6 separate regions of the Homo sapiens genome follow, and all the other regions are linked to region 4. The links are contacts of gene promoters, found by promoter capture Hi-C in human tissues and cell types (Jung and others, 2019). All regions are on one chromosome and are shown on one strand. The core of a region is centred on a gene start or on the middle of the fragment in contact, and the rest is flanking DNA. Distances in the headings are between cores, read along the strand shown. Region 1 overlaps TLN2 (talin 2). Region 2 overlaps LINC02568 (long intergenic non-protein coding RNA 2568). Region 3 has its middle 37 kb from the start of USP3. Region 4 holds the start of RPS27L (ribosomal protein S27 like). Region 5 overlaps USP3 (ubiquitin specific peptidase 3). Region 6 has its middle 56 kb from the start of USP3.

Region 1 (4,841 bases), core at 408-2,907, 420 kb before region 4:
TCCAGGAAGCCCAGAGTGAACTGAACCAGGCAGCAGCTGATCTGAACCAGTCTGCTGGGGAAGTGGTCCATGCCACCCGGGGCCAGAGTGGAGAGTTGGCTGCAGCCTCTGGAAAGTTCAGTGATGATTTTGATGAATTCCTCGATGCTGGCATTGAGATGGCTGGCCAAGCTCAGGTGGGTGTGGAGGTGGTTGTCTGGAGTTGACCTTAGCCTCTCCTCTCGGATGGATAATCCATCCTTGAGACTGACTGAACAAATAGGAAAAGGAACCTGGAAACAGGCAGGCCATGGTTGCATTCTTTTTGCTGCTTAGGAAGCTCATGCCCTCATGGGAATGGCATTCCCAAAGATGCTATCAGCTTATGCATGAGGTGCTGTTAGTAATAAAGAATAACTTCTCCCACGATCCTCCAGCAGAATTCATAGTCTTACTATTTGGAGGGAGGGTAGGAGGAGGGAGAATGTTTAACAAAGATTAGAACAGCTCTTCAAATGTGGGATAATACAATAAAAATATATATGTATTTGAGGTTTAATGGACCATTCAGATGGTCTGTGTCTAATACAGAGTGTCAAGTGATTAAAAATTACCTCCTTCAGATGAACAGATAAACCCCTTGTTTAGAACAAGGGAGCTTGACTGATCTGGTGTCAGCTTGCAGAGCTGTGTTTTTTGTTTTTTTTTTTTTTTCTGCGCTCCTTTGACCTCCCTAAAAGAGATAACCAGGGTGTATCTTCTTCTAGTATCTACAAAGAATTGTTTCTCAGATGGCAACCGGGTGAGAAATGTGTGCTTTCCCGAGTCAGGAACTTCAGGGATGCAGTCAGCTCTGAATATCGAGACAGTGCTGGTCGTTTGTGCCAGGCCGAGATGTACAGCTCCTTGACAACTCCAGCATTGTTGAGCAAGATGCTGGAATCGCTGCCTGGTCTGTGCATTGGCTCACAGCTCGCTCACTCTCCTCCCACCCTGCTCCCCGCTTAATGCCTCTAGTTGTGAGAAAAGCACAGCTCTTGGCTGACCCACTTGGGGATGGATTTCTTTCCCTGTGGCATGCATCTTGATCTGAGCATCTGTTTGGAGAAGGGTAGACACTGGTCAGTGTCTCAACGAGTTAGGCATCTGCGGGCTAACTGGGTTTAATGTGATCTATACGGATAACCTGCCTGCATGTCAGGATGCTGCTCCTAGCTCTCTGAATGCCTCCTTCAAGAAATGGACAGGCCCTAATAGCTCCGGCTCCTTTTGACCTTCCAGACAAAAGAAGACCAGATCCAAGTGATAGGGAACCTCAAGAATATCTCGATGGCATCCAGCAAGCTGCTGTTAGCTGCCAAGTCTCTCTCTGTAGATCCAGGAGCTCCCAATGCGAAAAATCTCCTGGCTGCAGCTGCAAGGTAGGAGTGGGACACAATGTGCTTTCGTGTGTGGTTAGACAGTGTCATTGCAGTCTGAAGATGTGCCTGACATCCTCCCACTTTTGCTGAGCAAAAGAATTGGTGCTGTCCTTAGGTCATGGGAGGTGGAGCTGAGAGTGATGGACACTCTGATATTTTATAAAACTGGCTCATTTCCATGTTCTTTCCCCACTAAAAATATCTTCTGTCTTCTCATACAGCCTTTTCAGTAGAGACTTGTTTAGACGTAAGGTCCATTTTGACTTGTAAATGCAATGAATTAAACAGATTTTTTTTAAGTAGCATTATATCTTTCTGATTATAAAATAGTATATATGCTTCTTGAAACATCAGAAAATACTGAAAAGCGTAAAGATGAAAAGCAGTGCTCATCAAGTCATTCAGCAGACTTTTATTGAGCACTTAACCCTGTGCCTGGCATCAGTGTTAGATTGAATGTAACATGTTGTATCTGTCACATGGGGAAGGCTCCACTTTAAGATGAGTAGGGAGGCAGTGGGAATAAATTGTTTTTGGAAATATATTAAAACATGAGTGTGAATTTTGGATGATTTGGGTGTCCTTCTTTCCTGTTGGTTTCACCCAGGGAAGTGGATAAAACAGTATAGTTTCTGCTCCAGGGCCACAAGTTAGTTCAGTAACTAGTGGTTGAATGTGGTATGTGGAGCACTGCAGTGACAGCCCAGGGGGTTCTCGTATCAGCAGCCCCTCTTTCATTTTCCTGAACCCAGAGAGTAGGGTGGTCATGATTCTGTGGTGGTGCAGGCATGTTTTTTTAGCATTATTTACCATCATATTACGTATAAGAAAGCTGACAGTGGAGAGAGATTAAAAGCAGGACTATTAGGGGATAGAGAGTAATTGGAGGCCTTTTTATAATGTGCAGATTCGTGATTTTTGAAAAGCATAGCTTTGATTCTGCTTTCCTTTTTTTAACTTGGTTTTTTAAAATTTGCGCGTGTGTGTGTGTGTGTGTGTCTTTATGTCTCCCCTGGGAGATCATTGGCTGTTTTTTAAATTGTCGGCATCAAGAGACCTGAATTATATTCCAAGCTTTAATACTTGACTAACTCAGTCGCATTGGTCAGGTTGCTCAGCCTGTCTAAACTTTCCCATCTGCAAAGTGGGGGTATGAACTACATCATCCTTAAAGCTCTCCTTAGCTCTCAGCACATAAGATCTCATGGTACTCATGGTCCAAACATGTCCTTCCTCCCTCTTGGCTTGTAGTGGGGTGTGTGTGTGTGTGTGTGTGTGTGTGTGTGTGTGTGTGTGTGTGTGTGTGAAGGGTTAGACACTGTCAGAGCAGTTTGCTTGCAAACCCTTGAGTTTCTTCATTTATTCCTGGAAGGTACATTTTAACTGCAAACAATAGCTAGAGCCACTAGGGGACTGGAAAATTATCTTCCCATCTCATGCTTTGTTCGTGACTGTTCTAGTAAATAAGTGACCTCCCTTGATGGTGGGAGAGATGGGAGGTGGGGTTGGGGGTGATGTCTGTTCTGTTGAGCAGCTGTTTCTGATAGAAAACCCCCTCTTGATCGTTGCTTTTTTTCCTACAAAGGAGCCTTTGGATAAGGCAACTGACATTTCCAGGTATCAGAACTCAGATGTTTTTCATTATCTTCAATTTTTTGCATCATTTCAAAATTACAGTTTCCAGCTTGGAATGGCTTCACTCTCCTAAATTGTGGGAAGGAGGGGGAATGTATAAATTGCCCTTTTGAAAGCCAGATATAGAAGGAAACAGAGCCGGAAAGAATATTGCTGGTGTATGGCTCTGTGAATAGGTGCAGGCCCCCTGGTGGTGGCTTCGAAGAAAGGACATGGGGAAAAGGGGAAAAAAAAAAGCTTTCGTTGCCTTTCTGTCCTGGCTTTTAGCAGTTGACGGAGAATTCCCAGCCTGGTGATTTCATAGCCAGGTAAGCACTTAAAAATCATCACATGAAAATGATTGTCTTGGGATGGAACTGTTGCGAGAAAACGCTGGCACATTCTCCTTGGTTTTTTGGCACATTTTGGCAAGCTTCTGCTCCCTGGGGCTGTTTCTCAGCAGAGACTCCAGCCAGGTCAAGAGGGTCAGGCAGGCTCCTCTTGGGACACAAAGCTCTGCCAGGCTGGGGTTCATTCATTCATTGTCTTATTCATTCATGTCTTCATTACATAGATTTTCATCACAGGCCTGATGTGGGTGACGCCCAGTGCTGAGTGCACACTGTGAATAAGACAGGGCCTGTCTTATTATGTGTGTCTTTATATCTTGTGTATTTATAACCCTCATTATGTGGCCCTGGTGGAGTTAGGCAGGACTCACCACATGCTCCGCTCATTTCATCTGGGCCTAGAACAGTCCTGCATAAAAGTGCACAGGAAGCTGGGCAGAAGGGATCTGATCATCATAGTCTCAGTCCTCAGTCCTCTGTCCTCCTTGTTCTTGAGACTGTCAGGTCCTGCCTGTCCTTCCTGTGTGTATCCTCAAAGTCCCCAGAAATGCCACTGCGGGGACCCAGGCCTGGACCAACTCAGCCCTGTCCCACTCCTGTGTTAACAGTCTCAAACCCCTTATTATTTGTGGTCTCTGTGGTCCTTCTTGCTCTGGGAAGAAAAGGTTTGCTTCTGGAGAAAAAAGTAGAGGATGTCTTTTTCCTCTGTTCTTAATTCTGCTTCCGAGCCTGGGTACGTTTTTGGGACCCTACCTATCCCCTTGGTTTTGGATGCCTAGGGGAGAGGAAGTCATTTGCTATTTAGTGCCTGGTTTGTTCATTTTCTTCCCGTGTAACTGTTTGGGTTCTGGCTCTTTTCTGACAAGTTGGGTGGAGCTGGAGACCCTTTGTCACCCATTCATCAGCCTTTTTCCCCCAACCAGGGGCTGGTCAGGTGCCCCCTAAACTTAGTCAAGGAAATAGAAAGCTAGCTTGCAGTTGCCAAAACGAAGGGGGTATCCTACCTCTGAACACCTTCCCTGAATCACTGCTCACCACCACAGTCATCCTGGCCAGAAGGACTCCAGAACTGAGAAGGCTTTAAGCCCACAGCGGCCAGCATCACACCCCCGGGCCAGGTTTCAGCTGCTTTCCAGTCCACAGAGGATGCTCCCTAGGAACTCAAGGTAGCACCTGCCCCCCTGGCTCCCCTTTGGTCTGAGGTTCTTGCTGGACGGGGCTCCTCCTGTCCCCAAAGACTGTGAAGATGGATGGTCTAGCAAGCAGCACAAACGAGAAGAGTGCATTTGCTCCGTAAACAGAAAGGTGTACAAGAGACCTTTGCTCTCTGTGGGTCTTACCTAGAATGTTTCCTTCCCTCCATCCAAATCAGGATGTCACTCAGCCCTGACTTTTCCAATTGCTTCAGTCTACATCGAGCCCTCCCTTTCAGGCAGACTCTGTGCCCGGCAGCTGAGGCTTTCATTTTCTTCCGGCT
Region 2 (4,554 bases), core at 962-3,461, 270 kb after region 4:
AGAAATGCTGAGTGCTCAGAGGATATAGGCAGGCAAGACACCAACAGAGATTGCTACATTCACAGAAAGGAATATTAAACAGCAGTGATGATGAATTAGCTATTTGCATCAATATGGATGAATCTGTCTGCGGCCATACCACCCTGAACATGCCCAAACTTGTCAATATGGATGAATCTCACCAAAACAATATTGAGTGAAAAAAACAAGGTTCAGAAGAATCTAAACAGTATTATATAAATTGGAGAAAAATTTAAAACATGCAAAACAAGAATATTTTTAAGAAAGATACACACACACATACATATATATAGCAAAAGTAGAAAAATACGATGAACAGTAAATTCAGGAGAGTCATAGTATCAACAAAGAGGGAGGGATGGAATGGAATCAGGAATCAGGAGGAGGCCTTGACTACATCTTAAATGTTTTAAATTTTTTGCTGGGTAGAAGTTACACATATGACCATTATATTATATTCTAATTTTTTTTGTATGTCCAAAATTTAAAAAAATAAAACATTGTAATAAACAGGCCAGACTCAGTGCCTCATACCTGTAATCCTAGCACTTTGGGAGGCCAAAGTGAGAGAATCACTTGAGCCCAGGAGTTGAAGACCAGCCTGGGCAACAGCGAGACCCCATGTCTACAAAAACTTTAAAAAATTAGCCTGGCATGGTGGCACATGCCTGTAGTCCCAGCTACTTGGGAGGCTGAGGAGGGAGGATCACTTGAGCCCAGGAGTTTGAGGCTGCAGTGAGTTATGATTGCACTACTTCACTCCAGCCTGGGCAGCAGAGTGAGAACTTAAAAATAATTATAATAAACAAAGTAAAATCTTATTTAAAAAATTCAAATGATCTGAAAGACATGAGGATTGGCCATTGTGAAAAAAAAAAGACTTGTTTTGTTTTTAACTAAAAATAGCATTAAGGATATTTTTAAATGTAAAAACTCTTTCATGACAAGGGTATAAGAAAATGTGATAGGCGCTACCACTGGAGAGCTGAAATACTTTCAACTTCACTCTTTTTTTTTTTTTTTTTACTTTTATGTTAGGTTCAGGGGTACGTGTGCATGTTTGTTACATAGGTAAACTTGTGTCATGGGGGTTTGTTGTACAGGTTGTTTTGTCACTCAGGTACTAGGCCTAGGACCCAGTAGTTATTTTTTCTGATCCTCCCTCTCCTCCCATCCTCCACCCTCTGATAGGCCCCAGTGTGTGTTGGTCCCCTCTATGTGTCCATGTGTTCTTATCATTTAGCTCCCACTTATAAATGAGAACACACGGTATTTGGTTTTCTGATTCTGTGTTCATTTGCTAAAGATAATGGTCTTCAGCTCCCTCCATGTTCTTGCAAAGGACGTAATCTCATTCTTTTTATGGCTGCATAATATTCCATGGTGTATATGCACCACATTTTCTTTATCTAATCTGCCATTGATGGGCATTTAGGTTAATTCCACGTCTTTGCTATTGTCAACAGTGCTACAGTGAACATACATGTACATGTGTCTTTATGGTAGAATGACTTATAGTCCTTTGGGTATATACCCAGTAACGGGATTGCTAGGTTGAATGGTAGTTCTGTTTTTAGCTCTTTGAGGAATCGCCACACTGCTTTCCACAATGGTTGAACTAATTTACACTCCCACCAACAGTGTATAAGCATTTCCTTTCCTCCACAACCTCACCAGCTGTTATTTAACTTTTTAATAATAGCCATTCTGACTGGTGTGAGATGGTATCTTATTGTGGTTTTGATTTGAATTTCTCTAATGATCACACCTTTTTTATTGTTTGAATTGTTTTTAACATGAACAGGTACTGCTTTATTGAAAAATGAAAAGCACCTGTAATTCTATCAACCTAACACCACTATTTTCATTTTCATTAATCCATTTTCCAGACCTTGCTCACATGCATACACTCTTTGCTAAGTTGCAATCATATCACACATGTATTTTATACCGTTTACACTTAATCATATATGATATGTACATAAACGTTTCTCCATTTCTATGTAGTCTAAATAATCATCTTTTCTTTTTTTTGAAACAGGGTCTCATTTTGTCACCCAGGCTGGAGTGCACTGGCACAATCTCTGCTCTCTGCAGCCTCAATCTCCCAGGCTCAAGTGATCCTCCCACCTCAGCCTCCCAAGTAGGTGGGGCCACAAGCATGCACTGCCATGCCTGGCTAATTTTTGTATTTTTTGTAGAGATGAGGTTTCATCATGTTGCCCAGACTGGTCTCGAACTCCTGGGCTCACATGATCCTCCCGCCTTGACCTCCCAAAGTGTTAGGATTACAGGCGTGACCCACCACACCCAGCCTAAAGAGTCATAATTTTAATGGTTACATAATGTTCTGTCTTGTCAATGCACAGTAGTTCACCAACCATTTCCTTATTTGAGATATTTATATTGCTTCTAAATTTCAGATATTGAAATAACTTTTTGATAAATATACTTGTGGAGGTTTTTATGTTAAATATAGCCTTAGCAGAAACCCCACGGGTGCAATTACTAAGTCAGAGGGTGTGTCTTTGCCCTGCAACACACAAAGCTTTCCCTTTGATGACGATTGTTTACTTAAAGCCCTGGGGACTCCCAAATGCCTGGGAATCTTCATTTTAGACTTAACCTATTTTAGGCTTGGTTTTGTTTTACTGCATTCTCAGGAGAGCAAAGGAGACAGCTGGGAGCAGATGGGCAAATCCCAGTTTGCCCAAAGAAATGTCTATTTTCCAAGGGGCATGAAGAATTTAGGAATAAAGCAGATCTGATTTCTAATTCTGACTTTGCTACTGGCAAATTGTGTGGACTCAGGAAAGTGACCGGCCCTCTTTAAGACTCAGTGTGCTTACCTCTGAAATGGAGCTGTCAATCACATCTGCCTCACAGGCTTGTTCTGAGGATGAAGTGAGAAAATGCCCACGAGGTGCTGGTTGCAGCAGCTGGTGCATAGTAAGTACTCAGTGGATATGAGCTGGTCCTAAGTAAGGTCAGCAAAAACGCTCTTCCCACAGACCCCGAGAAAGCAGAGTCCTGAATGAGGGGCTAGGGGAGTTGCCTTCCAGCTGATATTTCTCAATGGCTGTAATGCTGGTGAGAATTAAATAATTGGAGGAAGCAGGGGGAGAGAGAGAATGGAAAGAATCTTCTCTGGAACTACCAGCCTGTATTCTTTGCATTTCCATATCTAGCATGGAAATGAGAGAAAAACTGATGTGTATTGAGCAACTATAATGTCCCAGGTGCTTCACGTGCATTTTCTCCCCAGGCCTCCCTGCAGGGGTGAGGGAAGACTGCAAAGGTACAAGAATGGATGTTGAGGCTGTCCAGGCATCTCGCGTCTGAATGCGCGAGATGCTAGCCCTGCATCTCCCAGCTGGAGAACTGCACTCAGTTTGTCTCCTCATCTGTAAGTTGGCGAATGATCATTGTGCTGGGAATAAATCATTTTTATAAAGCGCCGGGCACATAGTAAGCACCGGCAGTAGCTATAATGAGCAGCTTGCCCCAGGTCACCCAGAAAGTGGCAGCACTGAGACTGGGGCTGGGTCTCCTGCCTCCGGAGCCCACATTTTTTCCACTGAATCACATTTACCTCTATACAAATGCCCATGGTCCGTGTGATACAAAATACTTGAGAAATACTTCTATGGTGATTCAAGAAAAGAATTATTCTGGGCCCTTTGTACTGTGTTTCAAGTGCTCTGTAATCAAAGAATTCATCCCTCCAGTCATTTCTGAAAGCTTCCCTTCTTTTTCAGGAGCTTAAAAAGGATGCAGTCCCAAAACATAGAAGGATTTACTCCAGATCCAAGCAATGAGTCAGGAACAGAAAGCCTGATGCCCTCACCTGGAACTCTCCCTCCTCCCTGGATGAGGACCTTCCCCAGAATTGCAGGGCACCCACACAAGACCAAGCAAGTTCAGAGAAAATTGAAACCTGACTTTAGAGCCTCTGGGATGTTCACTACACCTCATTGAACCTGTTTGGTTCACAGGTAAGGAAACCGAGGCCCAGTCAGTCACTTTGGTCACGACTGCTCCTGGCGTTAGTGTCTGAGAGAAAATTACTAACCACCCTTGTGCTTCTGGTAAACAGTGTTTGAGGTTTAGTGTCAATGTGAGCAGTCGTATATGAGAACATCTCTGGCTGTGCAGCTAATTACCACCTTTCTAAAGTAATCTCTGCCTGAAATGTACTGTGGCTGGAGCAGTTCAATTTCAGCATTGAATATGAAGTGACCATGGGCTCCGCAGGCACACAGGGATCCAAATTAGGAGAAAGTTGTTCCACTTGTCAACATGGAAGGAAGCGTTGTGTATTTCTTCTTTGTGGTGCCAGATTTAGCACAGGGAGGCTTCTGCCGGATAATTCGTCTTTGCAGTCGTCCTTATAGGAGGGTCTTAGCCCACCACACTAGGTTATTTTCAGCCTGGTGAAGCAAAGAGGGAACACTAGTAGCAGAAGACCAGGCTGAAGGAATTGTCTCTGCCCATGATAGGTAACAAATGGGTTTTGTGGTTCTGAGCCTCAAT
Region 3 (4,661 bases), core at 2,047-4,546, 310 kb after region 4:
ATCTGAAGAGGCCTTCTCCAACTGAGACACTCAAGGATGCCATGCATTTTTCCAAGTCACTAGGAAACAACGCTCCAATCGCATACCTTTCATTTGCATTATTGTAACCTAGACTGGTGTCCAACTCTTTTTCATAAACAGTGAGAAATAATGTCATTTCCATGATTGAATCAAGCACACCAAGGGTGTTATAGAATCACTTTTCTTGCTTAGCAGTTCTGGGCAGCAGAAGAGACTTGCACTCTAGATCCTGGAACAGCTGAGCTTTCTTGGGAAGATTCCAGACAGTTATTAACCCAATGAGTAACACCCTATGTGCCATTCTGACCCTCTGGGCTACAGTAATGCAATCTTCTATTGCTTTTCTCTCTTTTAAGAAAAGCCATCAAACAAGGGACTCATTCAAATTTTTAACCACAATATAAACAGACATTTACACAAGAGCAATTATAAATAGCACATGTGCAAAAAAAAAAACCTGCCTACTGGCATCCAAAGATATGCTGCAGAAAGCAAATTTGGGACTCTATTTAAAAATCTTTTCAAAAATGCCTTGAAGCAACAATATTCAATGTACCTGATGTTGCAGCAAAATTGATTTACTGATACAATATTGGTGGCATTCGAAATTAGTAATAGTTCCTTTGGGAACTAATATGGAAACACATAGGAAGAACTATATCCATGATTATTCAGAAGTAATGCAATAAAAATCTGCATAAAGAGGCCAGCACAGTGGCTCACGCCTGTAATCCCAGCACTTTGTGAAGCCAAAGCAGGAAGATCACCTGAGGTCAGGAGTTCGAGACCAGCCTGGCCAACATGGTGAAACCCCGTCTCTACTAAAAATACAAAAATTAGCCAGGGGTGATGGCGGGCTCCTGTAGTCCCAGCTACTCAGGAGGCTGATGCAGGAGAATAGCTTGAACACGGGAGTTGGAGGTTGCCGTGAGCCGAGATCACACCAACGTACTCCAGCCTGGGCGACAGAGCGAGACTCCATCTCAAAAAAAAAAAAAAGCCTCCATAAAGAAGTCAACATCAACAATATCTATTGTAGCAAAAAAAAAAAAATACTAAACTTGAGGGAATTGCTATATAGATTTTGATACAGCCACACATTTGCCTCTTATACAGCAATAAGGATAACTGTGCAGATTGATAGCAGTGTAGAGATGTTTATTATCAGTCAAATACAACAAACTTCAGGATCACATAGGCATTATGATTATAGCTCTGCTAAAAGTGTGCATACGCATCTGAAAGGGCTGGAAGGTATTGAAATAAAATTGGCTGTAGTGTTTGAGAGGCAAAATAGTATGGTTTAAATTACTTTTAATTTTCTGTTTATCTCCAACTAAATAAAAGAAAGCATATCAGTTGAAAAAGAATTAACCTTATCACCAATGTTTCCCACTAGACAATGAGAGCAGGAACCCTGCCTGTCTCTTTCAACAGCGTTTGCCAGAGCATGTGTCTGCCACATGGTAGGCGCTCTGTAAATATTTGTGGACTGATTGACCACTGCTGTCAGCCTCTCTGAACCGGTTTAGTAAATTGCTGATATAGACCTCCTGTTTTCACAAAGATCCTTCTTGCCATCACCTCCACAGTCTCAAAAAGCACCTTCATTTACAAGCAGGCTTTCAAAACCCAGCATCTTCCTCTCTCTCAGTGTCACTGGCAGAAGGAGGACATCACCTTAAAGTACCAGACTCTAGGGCCAGCCTGTGTTGGGAGAACCCCCCCGCCCCTTCTCTTGCAGCTTCCCCCGGGGGGGACAGATCTTCATGGGGACACAAGGGAGAGTAGCTTGATCCCTAAATCATCTGGACACTAACATTTTGCACCAGAAGATGGCAGTCTACACACCTCCTTATGGTGCAGAACCCACACCTTCCTTGACACTTTGACAGTTAATTGTTCAAGTCAAGTTACTCAGCCTACCCTCCACAAAGGTGGGCCAGGGTGAGGGTGTGACAAGGATGGCCAGGGCCTCAGGCCAAGATCAGGAACAGATGTAGGCAACTGATGCCTGCTGTGCCTGATGCTGGGAGAGATGGCACCTCCCACGTTTCACATTTCACAGCTGGGGAAACCAAGCTTCACAGAGGCTAAGACACTGCCAAGTCCCCCACTCCTAGTAGAGAAACACTGCCCAGACCCGAGCCCCGCTCTCCTTACCCAGCACCCACCCTCCTTCCACCATACCGTACTGCCTGCCAGCTCTCCAGCAACAGGAGTCTGTGAAAAAATGGGCAAGGATGTTTCTGAACCCATGGTTAAATGCTTTTAAAAATCACCATGTCAAATTATAAAATTGATCAAACCCTTTGACCTTGGAATACCACTTTGGGAAATATGTTCCAAGGAAACAAAATATGAAATACATATTTATAAATAAGTTTATAAAATATAAAAATGAAACAAAAGCACATATAGAGTTGTGTAGAACTGAGCTTGATACTGCAGTTAAAACCAGAGGCAGCCCAGATGCCCGACCGTGGGGAAAATTGTGCCGTGGTCATTATACTCACACTGGAAATGGCTGTCATGCAGATTAGCACCGACGTCCAGCCTGTCACGTGGGGACTGTTATACTAGTTGTTAAAATAAGTATTTTCATACCAACTGGTAAATAGTAGAGCCAGAGTGTCCTCCAAGCCTCCCTTGCCCCTCTACTGGGATCCTCCTGAACTCCCCCTGATCTAGCAACTAAATAGTAAATGCCTGGCCCAGCAGCCTCCAGGATCCCACATGAAGCAGTGGTCAATGAACATCTTAGTACTAGTTATTAGATATTTTTTAAACCTCCCCTGGCTAAGATTCTGTATACTCATGGAAAAGCGACCTTATTTTGGAATGGGACAAGATATAGGAATATATAAAGAAAGACATTATGTGACTTAACGGTAAGTAAAAAGAAGCAGAAATTAATACAAGGAATAGCAGTGAGGCAAATTTTATTTGTATAAACAAGAGTTTCTAAGAAGCCACAGAGTCTAAATATTTGGTAAACTAGGAGAGGGGAGATTTGAAAAATTTTGTCAGTAGCCTATTTAACAACCTTTCCCCTATTTCCTTCTTAAAAGAAAGTTGCACGGTGGCTCACACCTGTAATCCCTGCACTTTGGGAGGCTGAGGCGGGAGGATCACCAGGTCAGGAGATTGAGACCATCCTGGCTAACACGATGAAACCCCATCTCTACTAAAAATACAAAAAATTAGCTGGGCGTGGTGGCGGGCACCTGTAGTCCCAACTACTCAGGAAGCTGAGGCAGGAGAATGGCATGAACCCGGGAGGCGGAGCTTGCAGTGAGCCGAGATCACGCCGCTGCACTCCAGCCTGGGCGACAGAGTGAGACTCCGTCTCAAAAAAAAAAAAGTTGCAATTTTGTTCACTTGCCTACTCTTCTGATGACCAAATGCTTTGGGGAAGGTTGAGCTCAGAGGTAGTCTGGAGTGGGGTAGGGGTGTGAGTCCAGAGTGCCTAAGCCAGGCATAGTGGCTCAATCCTCTTGCCAAGTATGGATTTAGGCATGGGCTGATGATATAGTTCTGGCAATGAGGTGGAAGGGAAGTCAGCCTGGAGGATTCTAGCAAGACTTTCTTTGCTCATATAAAGGGACAATGACAGGAACATCCCCTGTGTTTCCTTTGAGGATGTCTTGCTTAAAACTAAAGCAAACACCTTGTTGACCAAAGGAGAAGACTAAAAGAGTCTCAGAGAACCCAAACCTTAGCCATGACACCTTTGAGTCACTAAATTAACCAACCTTGAAGCTACTCTAATGCTAGCCTTTTTCTTGTTGAAATGACCTTAGCTGGGTTTTCTAGTATTTAGAATGTAAGCTGTTTATTCACTATTATAGCCCTGTTATCTATAACACCATCTGGTGCATAGTAAGCCCACCATAAATATTTGTTGAAGGGATAAATGAATAAAAAGGAAGGAAAAAATGAATCCTTGCTGATATAGAAAGGTGTTAAGTTTCTTGGTCATCTTGGTGTTAGATTTTTCTGTTTCATTAAAAAAAAATATTCATTCAAAGCATTGCATGATGTTGACTAGGTGTATTAGTTCCAGGGAATTAGTGTTATGGGAAGTGGCAGACAGATCTGGATTTGAGTCTGGATCTGCTACTTACCAGTCAAGTGTTCTTAGGCAAATTATTCATCTTCACTGAGCACACCTGTAAAATGAGGATAAATTATGGGGTCGCTGTGAGTCTTAAATGAGAAGCAACCACAGAGCTGGGCACGTGGGAGGGGCTCTGTAAGTGTTCATTCCTCACCTTCCAACATTCTAAGTACTCAGGTACCATGATGCCAGGATGAATCAGGCCGAGTCTCTCTTTGACCTTGAGAAGGATTTCATGGGCCAGGGGGAGGACTCAGACATAGCAACAAATCAGCCACGTGACCCACATTAACATCACGGGAAATGGAACAAATTGACATCACATACCTCCTGATATGACACACTGAGATGAACAGAGCATTACCTCTGGGATAGTTCTGCCAAATTAGTACAACAAGAACTCATCACAAGGAAACATCAAACAAACCCAAAATGAGGTACTTTCTACAAAATAACTGGCTTAGACACTTCAGAAATGTTGTCATGAAAAACAAAAAGGAGGCTGGGTGCAGTGGCTTAT
Region 4 (4,606 bases), core at 1,693-4,192:
CTCCCAAGTATACTTAGCAATATTACTTAGCAATATTACTCTTAAAAAAATCATGTGCTGACTCCATATTTAGATCTCACCAGGTCACACCAAATAGATCTCAGATTTGCTGCCAATCCACTTGAACTCTTCCAGTGAGAGCATGGAACTTACAGCTCCCCAAAATATCACAAGCAAATTTATAACATCATTATGGAATCACAAATTTACAAGTATTACTATGGAAACTATATATATAATTTTTTTTTCTTATTGCACTAAAGTGAAAGAGGAATTAAAATTAGGTTTTTATATTAATCATTGCAGTTGCTCATAAAAGTAAAATCTCTGGCATTTTAACTTATATATTAGCTATCTGTTGCTTAGCTGGCAATGATAAAAAAAAAACTATTATATGTACTAAATATATATGGAACAAAATTTTGTAAAAGAAATTTTAAAATTCTATATGGTTTTAAAAATCTGTATGTCCTGGCCGGCGAGGTGGCTCATGCCTGTAATCCCAGCACTTTGGGAGGCCGAGGCGGGCAGACCATGAGGTCAGGAGATCAAGACCATCCTGGCTAACACAGTGAAACCCCACCTCTACTAAAAATACAAAAAATTAGCCAGGCATGGTGGCACGCGCCTGTGGTCCCAGCTACTTGGGAGGCAGAGGCAAGAGAATCACTTGAACCGGGGAGGCAGAAGTTGCAGTGAGCTGAGATGGCGCCACTGCACTCCAGCCTGGGTGACAGAGCGAGACTCCTAATAAAAAAAAAAAATAATAAATAAATAAATAAATAAATCTGCATGTCCTATAACATGTAGTTATTCTTTTGCTTCTATTCTGACTTAATTTATTCCAAGTTAAGCAAACTAAGTGAATAAATGTGTTCTAAACTAAGAAAAATAAGTCAATGGAGTTCACTGCAAGGTCAAGAGTATAAATATATCCATTTGAACAGGCCATTCTTTACTGAAAGCACACAATGAAAGATAAGTTATTTTGGTAATCATTAAGATTTCTTTAAACTTTTCAGTGAAGATAGAGACATTTATAATCATCAATCTCATCACTGGGTTGGAGAATGCCAAATGATATACCTTCTGTGAGTCTGGCCTTTCCTCCTGTAGGCTGGCACAACACTGTTGAACAACCTACACAAAGAACCACTGTCTGAGCATGGCTGAAAACCGTGGTGATCTTGTAGCAACCTAAAAAAAAAAAAAGGCAATGTTAAAAATGAAAAGCAGAGGAAAACAGCACCTGTTCGACATTTCTGGTAATATGTAAAAAAATCAGTAACTTCAGTGCTATGAAACAGCAAGCCACATGTGTAACATAAACTTTTCTAGCAGCGACACAAAATTTTTTAAAAACAGGTAAAATCAATAATATATTTCATTAAACTTAATATTTCCAAAATATCATTTCAACATGTAATCAATGTATTTTTTTTCTGTGCTACATCGTCAAAATCCAGTGAGTATTTTACAATTAAAGAACATCTCTATTTTGAGTATCCACATTTTGATTATCCACAAGTGCTCAGTAGCCACATTCAGCTAATGGCCATTGTATTGGGCAGCACAGCTTTAGACTGAAGAATCAACAGACTTTTCTTTGTATCATGAAACAGAAAACTCATCGTCTGAAGAGCTTAAAGACTTGCTAAGTCAAATGGCATATCTCCTTTGAATGCCTGTTTTCACTTACCCCGAAATGTTTCTACAATGGTTTCAGTACATTTATTATGAAAATGTCCCTGACATTTCCAATTCTGTAATCCCACTTCTACTCAACAGAGGGTTCTAATGTATCTTAACTATACACACCACACTAGCAATCCCTACAGAAATTTTCTTTAGTAAAGGAATTAAGATTTCAAATTTTACCTGGACATTTTACATCCATAAAGTAAGAATTTGGACTTTGTACTAGGCGTTTCTTTTTATGTTTTTTCTTTTCCTCTTCCAAGGACGGATGTAGTAAATCTCTAGCCAACTGAACAAAGAAGCATATTATTACTATTAGTTTTAAACCACAACGCTGGCACATTTAACCATACGTGAAATATACATGCAAAAACAGGAATAACGGTCATCCTCGGCAGAAGCAACACGTCAGATAGTAAAGTTATTTTTCGAAACCTGTTAATAACTTTCATCAGTACTTTTCATAATACTTGTGTTCTCCAAGTCCCTAGAAAAGGGCTTTCGCACGATCAGGAAACATATGGTAAGGCAAACTTTGTCCTTCTTTACTCAACTGCGTAATGAACTGTCTTCGATGAAAACTGCGCGAAGTCGAGGTGCTAAGCAAAGAAAGTGACCCCGACTGTGGACTCGCTTAGAGTAGAAACTGCTGAAGTAGACCAGACAACGTCAGCGCCTGGGTGATTTTTGCTCCTGTGGCTCAACAGCTGATCTGACAGGAATTCTTGCTGAGCGACCGTCCTTGACGGAATTAATATATAAGGCAACAACGAGGACAGTTTTTAAAAAAGGAAAACAAGTAGGAAATCGCTTCCGAAAGAAGGCAGAGGGGGCGAGAAACACCAATCACTGGGAAAGCCAAAAGACCCAAAGATCACAACCTCAGGGGCATCCTCAAAGACCAAGACCGCTCATAAGCTACACAGAGAACTGTTCCCCTCCCAGCCACCGCCTCTGAATTGCAGCCCACGCCCCTGCAGGGCCAGCCGCGCCGCGGTGACCGGGCAAGTCACTACATGCCCGCCACGCGCGAAGACGCTGCGCAACCTGAGCCGCCTCGCCACTCTCGGACACTACAGGCCCGAGAGGCAGCCGGACTCATCCGTCCCATATGACTCTCGGTAAAGAAGCCCAAAACAAACCCGGAGCCCGATGTAAACAACTCACAGGCATGTTGATCCTCTTGCAAGCTCAGCCCTACCAGACCTCCCAGCCCACACAGCTAGCAAGCTGCAAGCGATCTGCGCTCGGCATCAACTTCCGGGATAGAAGCTGCTGGGAGGAGCGGCGGGGCGGGCTTGTCTGCTCTAGGCCCTCCTCTCGGTGGTAGGGGGACGCCGCAGCAGGGTACTCGGGTCCAGGGCGCAGGGAAGACCCGGGGATGGTGAGCGTTCCAGGGTGCCAAGTCCCGTGGGTCTAACGGGCTTGTTGGCGAGCGCCGCGGGCTCTGCAGTGCCTGAGGCCAGAATCTGGCTGGGGAGCGGCCTCGGGCTTAGGCCATGGCGAGGGAGCGCCCGCGGCCACCGGGGCCGGCGCCACCCCGGAACCCGGCGGGCCGCTCAGCCCCCGGCCCCCTGGCCCGGCCGCTCTCGGTTAGCTCTGGGGGTGGGCACACGGGGCAATGCCACTATTCTCTTCTTTTGTGTATTAAAAAATACAGTATTATTAACCATTAATACGTGCCAGAGAGATTATGAAAGAGGCTCGTATCCTTTTGGCTTCCCTTTTCAAGGCGCAGATTTCGAAGTTTTCTGCGGGGTATGGCTGTGCCTTAGGTTTGCTTTGTTCTGAAAAAAAGTTTTTAAAACAGCACGGATTCGCTGCTGTGCCTCATTCACTAAGAGGCCCCACCCCTTCCGAGGATTACTCGTCCTTTGCAGAGTGGACAACTAGGGGGCCTGAGAAAGGCGAATGTCACCGATGACCGAACATGAGTCTTTATCATTATTATTATTTGAGACAAGGTCTCGCTTTTTTGCCCAGGCTGGAATGCAATGGTGCCATCACAGCTCACTGCAGCCTCGACCTCCTGGGCTCAAGCGATTCTCCCGCCTCAGCCTCCCGAGTAGCTGGGACCACAGGAACACGCCATTATTCTTTTTTTTTTTTTTTTTTTCCTTGGAGACAGGGTCCTGCTATATTGCCCAGGCTTGTCTCCAATTCCTAGGCTCAAGAAGTCCTTCCACCTCAGCCTCCCAAGTAGTTGGGACTACCGGCGCGTGACAGCATGCTCTATTTTTGAGGAGGAAACTCTATGCTTGAAAAATGGGTGTCATGGGCGACCAAAAGGCAAGAAACCAGAAAGACACTTTACCAGAAAATTGGTCTAACTGGATTTTTTTTTTTTTTTTTTTTTTTTTTGGCAGAGTCTTGCTCTGTCACCCAGGCTGGAGTACAGTGGCGCGATCTTGGCTCACTGCAACCTCCGCCTCCTGGGTTCACGCGATTCTCCTGCCTCAATCCTCCCAAGTACCTGAGATTACAGGTGTCCATCACCATGTCCGGCTACTTTTTGTGTTTTTAGTAGAGACGGGGGATGGTGGGGGGGGGGTTCACTATGTTGGCCAAGCTGGTCTCGAACTCCTGACCTCAAGTGATCTGCCCGCCTTGGCCTCCCAAAGTGTTGGGATTACAGGCGTGAGCCACCGCGTCCCGCCCTGACTTGATGTTCTTAATCACCTTATTTGTCTTTGCAAAAAGGATACATGTATAATATACATTTTGGGAAATGCAGAAAAATAGAAGAAAATTTACCATCTGTAAATAAACATTTTTAACTTTTGACCTATATCCTTCCCAATATTTTTTACTCTCTTGGATATAGGTTTATTTTGGGTTTTGACTTAACCTAATTGGGATCATCTTGTGCATAATCTTTTGTAGACTTGAATTTTCCTCCCACTTACTA
Region 5 (4,390 bases), core at 1,491-3,990, 380 kb after region 4:
TCCATTTGGTTATGCTCAGAAAGTATATTCTGCAGTTTTAACTTTGGTGTGAAGCAAATTTCTTTCTGTGACTAGTAAATTATGATGAACAATTCTTGTTTTAATCAGCTTTCCCTTGATTCAGAAGGTTGTTGACATTAAAGGAGGGGATATAAGCCATTTAAAGGATCACTTTGGAGATATTTTTTATTGTCAGACAGCCCTTGAATGTTACATGAAGGCATTACTGGGTAGAGATGGGGATTTAGAGAAGTCCAGATAACAATTTTAATTTACTTTCTACTGAAATGGTGTGAGAATCCTTTCCACATTGTCCTTAGTCGATAATTGTATGATAGGAAGGTGCCCATCAAAAGGAAGAAGAAAGGGTCAGTGGTTTGCCAGGTCTTTTACTTTTTTTTTTTTTTTTTGAAACAGTCTTGCTCTGTCGCCCAGGCTGGAGTGCAGTGGCCGATCTCCGCTCACTGCAAGCTCTGCCTCCTGGGTTCAAGCCATTCTCCTGCCTCAGCCTCCTGAGTAGCTGGGACTATAGGCACCTGCCACCACTCCCGGCTAATTTTTTTGTATTTTTAGTAGAGACAGGGTTTCACCGTGTTAGCCAGGATGGTCTCAATCTCTTGACCTCATGACCCGCCTGCCTCGGCCTCCCAAAGGGTCTTTTACATTTTTACAGGTTCAACACCATTAAATTTTGGCTATTGAATAGACATCTTAAGGGTTATTCATTCAGATCACTACTGTTTTTAGTGATCCTTTGTGTGGAAGATGTCCAGACCTGGAGAGAGAGAAGCTAGAGGTAGGTGAAGATTTCAGTAGAAATGAAAATCTTCCCAAGATTTTTACACAAAGGTTAGTGCTCAGTTTATTGTTATTTGCTGTTGTGAAACACACCTACCAAAGTTAAGCATTAGCCAGGCAGTTAAAGCGTTTGCATTCCCCTTTCCCTCAGGTTTTCTTTTTTTTTTTCGCCCTTTCCCTCAGGAAACTTATATACTAGAGTGATGTGGCTACGTAATTTGCAGAACTGTGTGTTTCTGTGTGTTTGTATTTCTGCTTTAGACAACAGAAATTAATATAATTCTTGAAGTATCTGTCTCACATTGTCATGGGTCACATCATCCTATAGTACCAGATACTGAGAACATTGATTTTTGATTTTCAGTTAGCAATGTGAGTGAATTGCTTAATGGAGGACTTTGGAAATACAATTAAATCGCTGTGTGCTATAACAAGTTTGCCATTGTTTTCTTGCTGTTGGTAAGATTCTGAGGAAACTAACTGTTAAAGAAAATTTTAAGAATTATCTTAATGGAATGGAATTATATTCAAGGCCCTTTAAAAATGTAGATTATATATTTTAATATCTTTATACATTGTATTTTAGGGGCATATTTTATTAACTAGAAATGGGAATTGAATTGGTTTTATTTCGCTATGGTCTGCTAAAGTATATGTCGTTTCATGGTGGAATTGGAATTAAATGGAAAATCTTGAACCTTGGGGAGTATACACTATGATGGAGTCTTCTTGGCCGATTGCCAGGCTTTTGTGTGAAGTTGTACAGAGCTGCAAGTGTGTGGACACCCAGAGCTGCTGAATTCAGGAAGGGAGCTGCAGCTGGTCACATTGTCGGCTCACTTGTGGGTTTTAGAATAAAATGCTAGGGAATCACCCCGTAGCATTACACTGATGGCCTAAAAGAAATCTGTGATAGTTGTAAATTGACGAAGATGCAGTTTAAATTAACATTCCTCCCACACCTCACTGTGATGAAGAAACAGATTTCCTATTTCTGTGTGGAGTGTGTGCATGTGTTGTTTCCTCGTGCCCGTTAGTAATTTTACTTCAATTTATTAATTTTCCTTGTACACTAATTTCTTGTGGTTAGACTGAATGATTGATTTCAGAGGTAAAACATTGGTGCATTAGGTTTAACATGTTTGATTATAAATATCTTGACTAAAGTCAAAGCCTTTTTTGCAGTGTGCTCTGTGCCCTAGAGAAGTTATAACATACTCTGAGGCTTGCAGTTCTTCTTTCCCTGCTTTCCCCTTGCCAATAGTCCCTGCCCTGTCCTATGTTTGCAATCCTTTATGAAGTTATCACTGAACTCTTCTCTTTCCCCAGCTCCAGTTGTAGCTGAATGTAATCTTTCCTGAACTCACAGCTCTTGGAATACTTATAATTTCATGCTGCATGTTAGTTATTTGTAAATGTCCTTGGAGACTGCAGATACCATATCTCAGATCTTTGTATTTTTCCCTAGTATGCAGTGTCTGGTGCAGAGTAGGTGACATACGTTTGAAAGACTGAATTTTGTTAACTGTCTTTCAGAAATGGGGAAGGTTACATCAGATCTATAATACTGTGTCCCCTGATCATCTTGAAGGACTAAAGAGCCACGTAACATTTTTCCTGCAGACAACTTAAATCATGATATAGGTGAACTACTTCATTTCCCTCCCAAGATGGACACCCTTGTAGAGCAGTGCCCCTCCACCTTGATGTAAACAGGAGCCCAGAGAGGAAGCATGCATTAACCAGGCAGAACAATATAAATCAGGTTACTGTTCATTAAGAGAGAAAGCAGTGCGAAAAGGAATGATTCTGATTTGACACAAACCCACTTCTTAAGGAGATAAGCACATTAACTTGAAAATGAAAGGTAAATTAAGATTTCGATGAAAATAAAAATCTTCCCAAGATTTCACACAAGAGCTAGTGTTTAGTTTACTGTTTGTTAGGTAATATTTCATTTGCTCCCATCCCAATTTCCCTCCCTTAACCAATACAAATGGAATTGTATGTGGTGTACATTATTGTGATTGAGAAGAAACAAAGATTAAAATTAGGAACTTTGGTTTTTTTATGGAGGTAGACCTTTGTATTTAATAGATTTAAAATACTGAACCAATAATTTTTGACATCTGACATAGTCTTGTCAACTTCGATATCCTTATCAATAATAGCTGAATTTTTGAGAATGAAGAATTATGAAAGGAATATTAAAAGTATATTCCTTCAGGGCAGGTAATGTTTTAAAGCATCCTTTCAAATGAAGAAATATTGTGAAATATGAATCAGTTGTCTAGAAAAGAGGCTTGAATTTCAGATTTTAAACACTTGTAATAAATGGCAATTTTAATTAAAATGAACATAAAGCTTTATTTGTGAGTTTAAATAGATAATGAATCATTTCCTACAGCAGTTGTGATTAAAAATTTTAAAAAAGGAAAATATTTTGTTGATGTTCTTATAAACGATTTGGACGCAAATTTTCAATGTAAAAAATTAGACAACAGGGAGAGTTTTGTTTATTTAAAAACAATATTTTGAAGTTTAAGAAGAAACTTTCTAATAGAGATAATCTTAAAACATAAAAGGCTCTTCCTTAAGATAAGCTGGTACTTGTCTGCTTTTAACAAAGGATATGGGTTTGCTCTGCAGGTATTCTTCTAATTTTCCATAATTGGCTTATTTGATGGCAATACATCAGAGTTTAGTAAGAGAATTTAAAAATGCTCTTGCTTCCTAAGCAAATTCTTTTAGATTTTAACCTTTCTCAGTTTGAAATAGGTGAAGTCACTAGAATATCAGCTTGCTTTTTCTTTTCAGTATTACTGTCATTTATAATAAAACCAGATGTCAAATTTGCCCGTAAATATCAAAATGTCTTAGAAGTGAATGAAAAGGAGCTGGTGAAACTTAATGAAGGATCTGTCATGTGTCAGGGGTGTTTGTTGCATAAGAGGTTTTATTTATTTATTTATTTTTGGTATTAGTGTTATGCATGGCTTACTGTATAAAGATAGCTTTGTTGCCAGTAAATTAAAGGACTTGTTTCTTTACTGTTGCATAAAAAATGTTTTATTTGTATGATTATTCCTCCTTGTTTCAGATGAGTGAAGAATGGTTTGCTTTGGGAATATTTTCTTAGTTCTTCAAGGACATGATGTGGAAGTCATGACTTGAGTAACTTCAATAGCACTAACAACAGGAATTGAAAAAAACTTAGAATTTTAAAGCTGAGAAAGAGGTAGAGATTTTTCTCTGTCTTGGGTATGACATATATGTTATTCAGTATGGTAGCAATTGAGCAATTGAATGTGGCTAGTGTGAAGAATTAAGTGTTTTTTATTTTAATTAATATTTAAATAGCACCATGTGACTGCTAGCTACTATTGGACAGTGCAGCCTCAAACTATTAAAATTTAACATTAAGTATATTAATGTTATAAACTTTCAAAACCTTAAGATAGAAATCTAACAGAAACTCCAAAAACAAAATAAGCCAATTTTACTAAATAAAATACTGTAGTTGGAAATAACTATAACTTAAAGCAAATCTAACCCAGTAAGCTATCAAAAAGAAAAATTATATAATTACCAA
Region 6 (4,971 bases), core at 428-2,927, 290 kb after region 4:
AAAATGGATGAGCTTCAAGGTCCTTCTCAGCTTTACGATGCTGTGATTGTGAGATGCTATAGATCTGAATTTTAAAAATCAAGACTAGATGTTAAGATACATGTATTACAACTCTGGCTTCTGCTACCCAGGGGGAACAGCAATGGGTGGGCACAAAAAGTGGCACAAAAACATTGTGTGAAAGTCAGAGATGAATCTTGATGGCCCGTGTTTTGTTCTAGATGTACCCACGTGAGACCTTCCCAGAAAAGGCTGGGGACATTCCCATGATGCCAGAGTGAAAGAAATGTCTTTCTTTGATGCCATTTATGTAATTATCGTCATGTCTGTGGTGGTGGTCGTTGTGGACGTAAGAGGAAACCATTCTGGGTGGGGAGGCCTTTTGCAGGTACCACCTAGCAGCTCGATTGTTTCAGGTGGAGACAAGACTTGCTCATTAATCCTCATGCTTCTGAGGAGGCCTCACCACCAGAGGAGGTGGTGGGGCTGATAATGTGGGCCTCATGAAACAGTGTAGCTTCATGCTGAGAGTGGAGTCCATCAGCTCTATGTTTCCGATCTTGGTCTTGCCATCTACTAGCTGTGTAACTTTGGGCAACTATTTCACCTTTCTGAGCCTTTATCACTGGAAAATAAGTGGGGATAGTATCCACCTTGCAGAATGTAGGGCAGTTTAGATACCACAATGTCCATCAAGCACTTGGCACATAATAAATGATAATGGCACAGTAGCTGAAAAAGCACTACAACCTCCAGGTGTTCTGCCACTTAGGCGATTTGAATCACCTGCACTATTTATTGCAGCATCTACCTAGCAAACCTCATGCCAGGTGAAACTAGCCATTTACCTGGGAAAGGAAAGCTCCCCAAAAAGCAAAGGCAACTGCTCATGGAAGGAGAGAGGGATCCTCAGAGCCAAGACTTCAGGGTCTAGTTCCTGCTTTTCCTGCCACCCTTTTGACAAAGCAGGACTCTGCTCCCCATCTTTGGGGGCAGAAGCACTAAATTACAGCCTTCCCCAAAACATCCTAGCAAGAACATAATATAGATGCAAAGCTTCATTGTAATTCCTAAACCCAAATTATTCAAATGCGGGCTAGAGAACAGCCCAGCATAGGAGGACCTGGCTGGAGGGTGCCCACGTGGTCTCCTGGAAGCCTCTGGCTGACAATTCTAACCCCAGGCTAAATGCATAATGTGCTTATTATACATTTAAGTATATTGCTGATGTTTTGAACAGACAGCTTCAACAACATTTCGGTATGTAGCTATCATTAAGGAGAGTTTTTAAAAATAAGATCCTTTGTACTTGGGGGGGTGGGGTGGTAAGGGAGAAAGGGTATCAACATGATGCTGTAATCTGATCTTTTTAGCTTTCAAATGATGTCACTTAATGACTTGGACCTAAATACACTCAGGAAGCTTAGGCAGCCCCAGTGCGCAGCTGCCTGTGTTGGAGAGGATCTGAAAGTCCTGCCTATCCTGGAGTGCCTTCTTCACCACTTTGCACCAGGCCTAGGGTTGCCCCCATTAGTTACTCTTTTGGGTCATGGTCCCAAAGGGAGAGAAGAGAAGGGACAGCAGAAGTTAGCTTTGTTAGCTCACTTGACATTGGAATCACCTGAGAGCTTTAACAAATACTGATGGCTGGCCTCACCCCCTGGAGAGTCTGATAATTTGTCCCAGGTGCAGCCTGGGCATTGGAATTTTTTTTAAAGTTCCCAGATAACTCCAATGTGCATCCAAGGTTGAGAATCATTGCCCCTGTGCCCTCTCACCCCAACACTCAACCCTCACCTCTCCGTCTTCTTCTACTGCAGCCCTGGTCAGTCCAGCAAGCCCTGGGGCTGAGCAAACACAAATAACTCCACTGCGAGATAGGGATCGTGATCTCCATTTTGCAGATGAAGAAACTAAGACCCCAGAGAGTCTGTTACACAACTTTGCCCAAGGTCACACAAGTAATTAATAGCAGACTAGATCTCTCTGGCTTCAAACTGGTTCCCAGTTCATCGGGCTGCCTTGATAACTTGGGAGCATTAACTCATTAAGCTGTTAATACATCAGAGGATTTCATTTATGGTAATAATGGCCCCTTACATTTTTATGGAGCTGTTAGGGTTCACAAAGCACTTTCATATACTTTGACTTTTTTTAAGCATTATTCCTCCATTTTATTATTTTTAAAATTTATTTTAGGTTCTGGGATACATGTGCAGAACGTGCAGATTTCTTACATAAGTAAACATGTGCCATGGTGGTTTGCTGCACCTATCAACCCATCACCTAGGTATTAAGCCCCACATGCATTAGCCGTTTGTCCTGATGCTCTCCCTTCCCCCGCCCTCTTCCCCCACATATTCTTCCGTTTTAAAAATGAGGAAACTGGAGCCCAGAAACATTGTCTTCCTCATGGTCACAAGATAGAGGAACCAGAATTTGAGCTCAAATCTTCTTACTCCTCATTTCAAAGAAAGAAGTACAATGAGAAACTGGGAGCCTGGTGGGTGTAAATTTTTTGGATGTAGGGAAGATTGAAAAGTTTCAGAGCAGGGCAAGATCTCAGGTTCTCCAAAGGTGGGAACTGAAGAGACATCAACACCCAGGAGGTGCAGAGAGAGAGAGACTGTGGTCCAATGTTAACAACTGGTGAATCTCATCGAAGGGTATACAGGTGCTTGTTGTATGGTCTTTGCAACTTTTCTGTATGTTTTCAAATTTTTTAAATAAAAGGAAAAGTACGAGTAGTTTTAGAAATACCCAAATAGGGCCAGGTGTGGTGGCTCACGCCTGTAATCCCAGCACTTTGGGAGGCTGAGGTGGGTGGATCACAAGGTCAAGAGATGGAGACCATCCTGGCTAACACAGCGAAACCCCGTCTCTACTAAAAATACAAAAAAGCCAGGCGTGGTGGCACGGGCCTGTAGTCCCAGCTATTCGGGAGGCTGAGGCAAGAGAATCGCTTGAACCGGGGAGGCGGAAGTTGCAGTGAGCCAAGATTGCGCCACTACATTCCAGCCTGGGTGACACAGCGAGACTCCATCTCAAAAAAAAAAAAACAAAAAAAACCCCAAAAAAACCCAACAAATAATATTCAAGGTGAGCTGTGAAGAACCAGAGAAAATACTTTTTTTTTCTGAAACTTGGCTGTTGTTTCTAAAAGCACAAAAGTTACTGAATTGTTTGCCTATGTTACTGCAGAAGTGGGAAAATATTGTGTCAAGTAAGCACTGTACATGTCAGGAGTCACTGGGTGAGGTTTAAGTTAATCTTTTAATTGAAAATGCAAATAAAAATAGTAATTTGTGTTGACCTCGGCAATATTCTTCTATAAACATAGATTTATTCAGACTTTACAATTACTTAGTACCCTTTATAATTTAATAGAAATGAAAAAGTATATATAGCAGACTACTATATTAAAATAGCTGCACAAAGAATGTATCTCCTCTTAATTGTTCTATAAAATCCCATGGAAATTTTTGTTCTGGAATGTTGCACACCCTATAATTTTAAAAACAAGCGTTAGAAATGTAAAATGTTTAAACATACAGGCCATTGTAATACCCTTTATCATAAAGAGATAATATGCAAAAAAGTTGAAACAACACACATTTTGTTATGTTACTCTCCTACCTAAAGACTCTGAGTGCCCCTTTAAGTCAACACAAGGCCATGCCCCTTACTTGGGCAGTCATAACCCTCACAAGTGTCTGCAACCCACTTTCCAGAAGCCTCTCCCTCCTCTGCCCCCAGGCACTCTACCAGCCAGCCAGGCCAGGATTCCTGACTCTTCCCTGTCCTTCCTGCCAGGATCTTTGCAAATACTCTTCCCTGGCTGGAAGGCCCCTCCCCTCTCTGAGCAAGTGCCTGGCTTCTCCAAGTCACTGTCCAACCTCAGCCACGCACCACCCCCCACCCAAGCAGAGGTGGCCCTGCCCCTGTCCTGTTGGCAAACGTCCTTGGTGTAGCACTCGCCTCCTTGTATTTTAAGGACATGATAGTGGGATTTTCCTCATTTCCAGAATTTCCCAAGAGCCAACAGCTGGAAACCTTTAACATTTTTAGAGCACCTCCAGCTGCGGGGTCAGCTACCCCTGTATAAACTTTCTGAAAGGCACAGCGCCATTTCTGCAGCGCCAGTACCTCATTTCTCCCCCAAAACCCCACCACTCCACCTCCAATCTCTGCAAGATGCATTGGGATGAGGTTGATGATTAACTTTGTAGAGAGTACAGCTGATATAAAGTGAGACCATTCTTTGCTATCTCCTCCGATGGGTGGGGGGAGGGCAGGGTGACTGGATTGATCCCTGCTGTGCCAAACCCCTATCGACTCCACTGGGGAATGGCACCAGGCTCAAAAGGCCGAAGAAGAGACCCAGAGGCAGTGAAAGACACGTGGGTTTTTTTGTTTGTGTGTCTGTTTTTGAGACAGAGTCTCGCTCTGTCACCCAGGCTGGAGTGCAGTGGCGCAATCTCGGCTCACTACAAGCTCCACCTCCCGGGTTCACGCCATTCTCCTGCCTCAGCCTCCCGAGTAGCTGGGACTACAGGCGCCCGCCACCACGCCCGGCTAATTTTTTGTATTTTTAGTAGAGACGGGGTTTCATTGTGTTAGCCAAGATGGTCTCGATCTCCTGACCTCGTGATCCGCCCGCCTCAGCCTCCCAAAGTATTGTGATTACAGGCGTGAGGCACCGTGCCCGGCCCCACATGGGGTTTTATTAAGGGCTTACATACAGGGGAAAGAGTCCAGTGGTGGCAGGCTGGACAGGAGAACCGCAACTGTTTGCAAAAGGCATGTAGTTTACATAGCATTTTCACTTAGTACCCTCCCCCTAACAACCTCCACCTGGCAACCTTCATTTAAGCCAGAACGAAGGGCCTCAAATTCCTGTACGCCTTCCACAGGAAGGGCCAGGGGCTCAGATGTTGCTCCTAAATAAGGAATGACTCGGGTTGGCCACTC

The links. The method cuts DNA at HindIII sites, captures the fragments that hold promoters and counts their contacts. A contact is called where the count stands out against the background at its distance.
Region 1: a contact is called between a fragment that was not itself captured here and the fragment with the promoter of RPS27L in region 4, in 1 of the 25 tissues and cell types used here (hippocampus).
Region 2: a fragment that was not itself captured here is called in contact with the fragment with the promoter of RPS27L in region 4 in 1 of the 25 tissues and cell types used here (lymphoblastoid cells).
Region 3: a contact is called between a fragment that was not itself captured here and the fragment with the promoter of RPS27L in region 4, in 1 of the 25 tissues and cell types used here (spleen).
Region 5: a fragment that was not itself captured here is called in contact with the fragment with the promoter of RPS27L in region 4 in 1 of the 25 tissues and cell types used here (IMR-90 fibroblasts).
Region 6: a contact is called between a fragment that was not itself captured here and the fragment with the promoter of RPS27L in region 4, in 2 of the 25 tissues and cell types used here (IMR-90 fibroblasts and hippocampus).

The regions. Positions count from the first base shown.
Region 1 is chr15:62,739,370-62,744,210 of GRCh38, forward strand. It overlaps TLN2 (talin 2), which reads left to right. Exons shown (of 59, transcript NM_015059.3): 31 at 1-176; 32 at 1,261-1,400. Among named protein-coding and RNA genes, the nearest start is that of MIR190A, 82 kb to the right of the region's middle. RefSeq lists a silencer at 4,190-4,345. The HindIII fragment of the contact is 3,403 bases long and covers 1-3,359 here.
Region 2 is chr15:63,428,373-63,432,926 of GRCh38, forward strand. It overlaps LINC02568 (long intergenic non-protein coding RNA 2568), which reads left to right. Exons shown (of 7, transcript NR_120375.1): 5 at 2,833-2,970; 6 at 3,780-4,016. Among named protein-coding and RNA genes, the nearest start is that of LINC02568, 40 kb to the left of the region's middle. The HindIII fragment of the contact is 3,938 bases long and covers 243-4,180 here.
Region 3 is chr15:63,465,011-63,469,671 of GRCh38, forward strand. No RefSeq gene overlaps it. Among named protein-coding and RNA genes, the nearest start is that of USP3, 37 kb to the right of the region's middle. The HindIII fragment of the contact is 6,427 bases long and covers 84-4,661 here.
Region 4 is chr15:63,154,535-63,159,140 of GRCh38, forward strand. It overlaps RPS27L (ribosomal protein S27 like), which reads right to left and starts at 2,943. Exons shown (of 4, transcript NM_015920.4): 1 at 2,866-2,943; 2 at 1,879-1,987; 3 at 1,087-1,197. The coding sequence starts at 2,871. RefSeq lists enhancers at 1,683-2,882, 2,167-2,256, 2,407-3,066, 2,462-3,035 and a silencer at 3,217-3,316. The HindIII fragment of the contact is 14,496 bases long and covers 1-4,606 here.
Region 5 is chr15:63,538,157-63,542,546 of GRCh38, forward strand. All of the region lies in intron 3 of USP3 (ubiquitin specific peptidase 3), which reads left to right. Among named protein-coding and RNA genes, the nearest start is that of USP3, 36 kb to the left of the region's middle. RefSeq lists a silencer at 1,394-1,688. The HindIII fragment of the contact is 4,284 bases long and covers 599-4,390 here.
Region 6 is chr15:63,446,079-63,451,049 of GRCh38, forward strand. No RefSeq gene overlaps it. Among named protein-coding and RNA genes, the nearest start is that of USP3, 56 kb to the right of the region's middle. The HindIII fragment of the contact is 5,139 bases long and covers 1-4,247 here.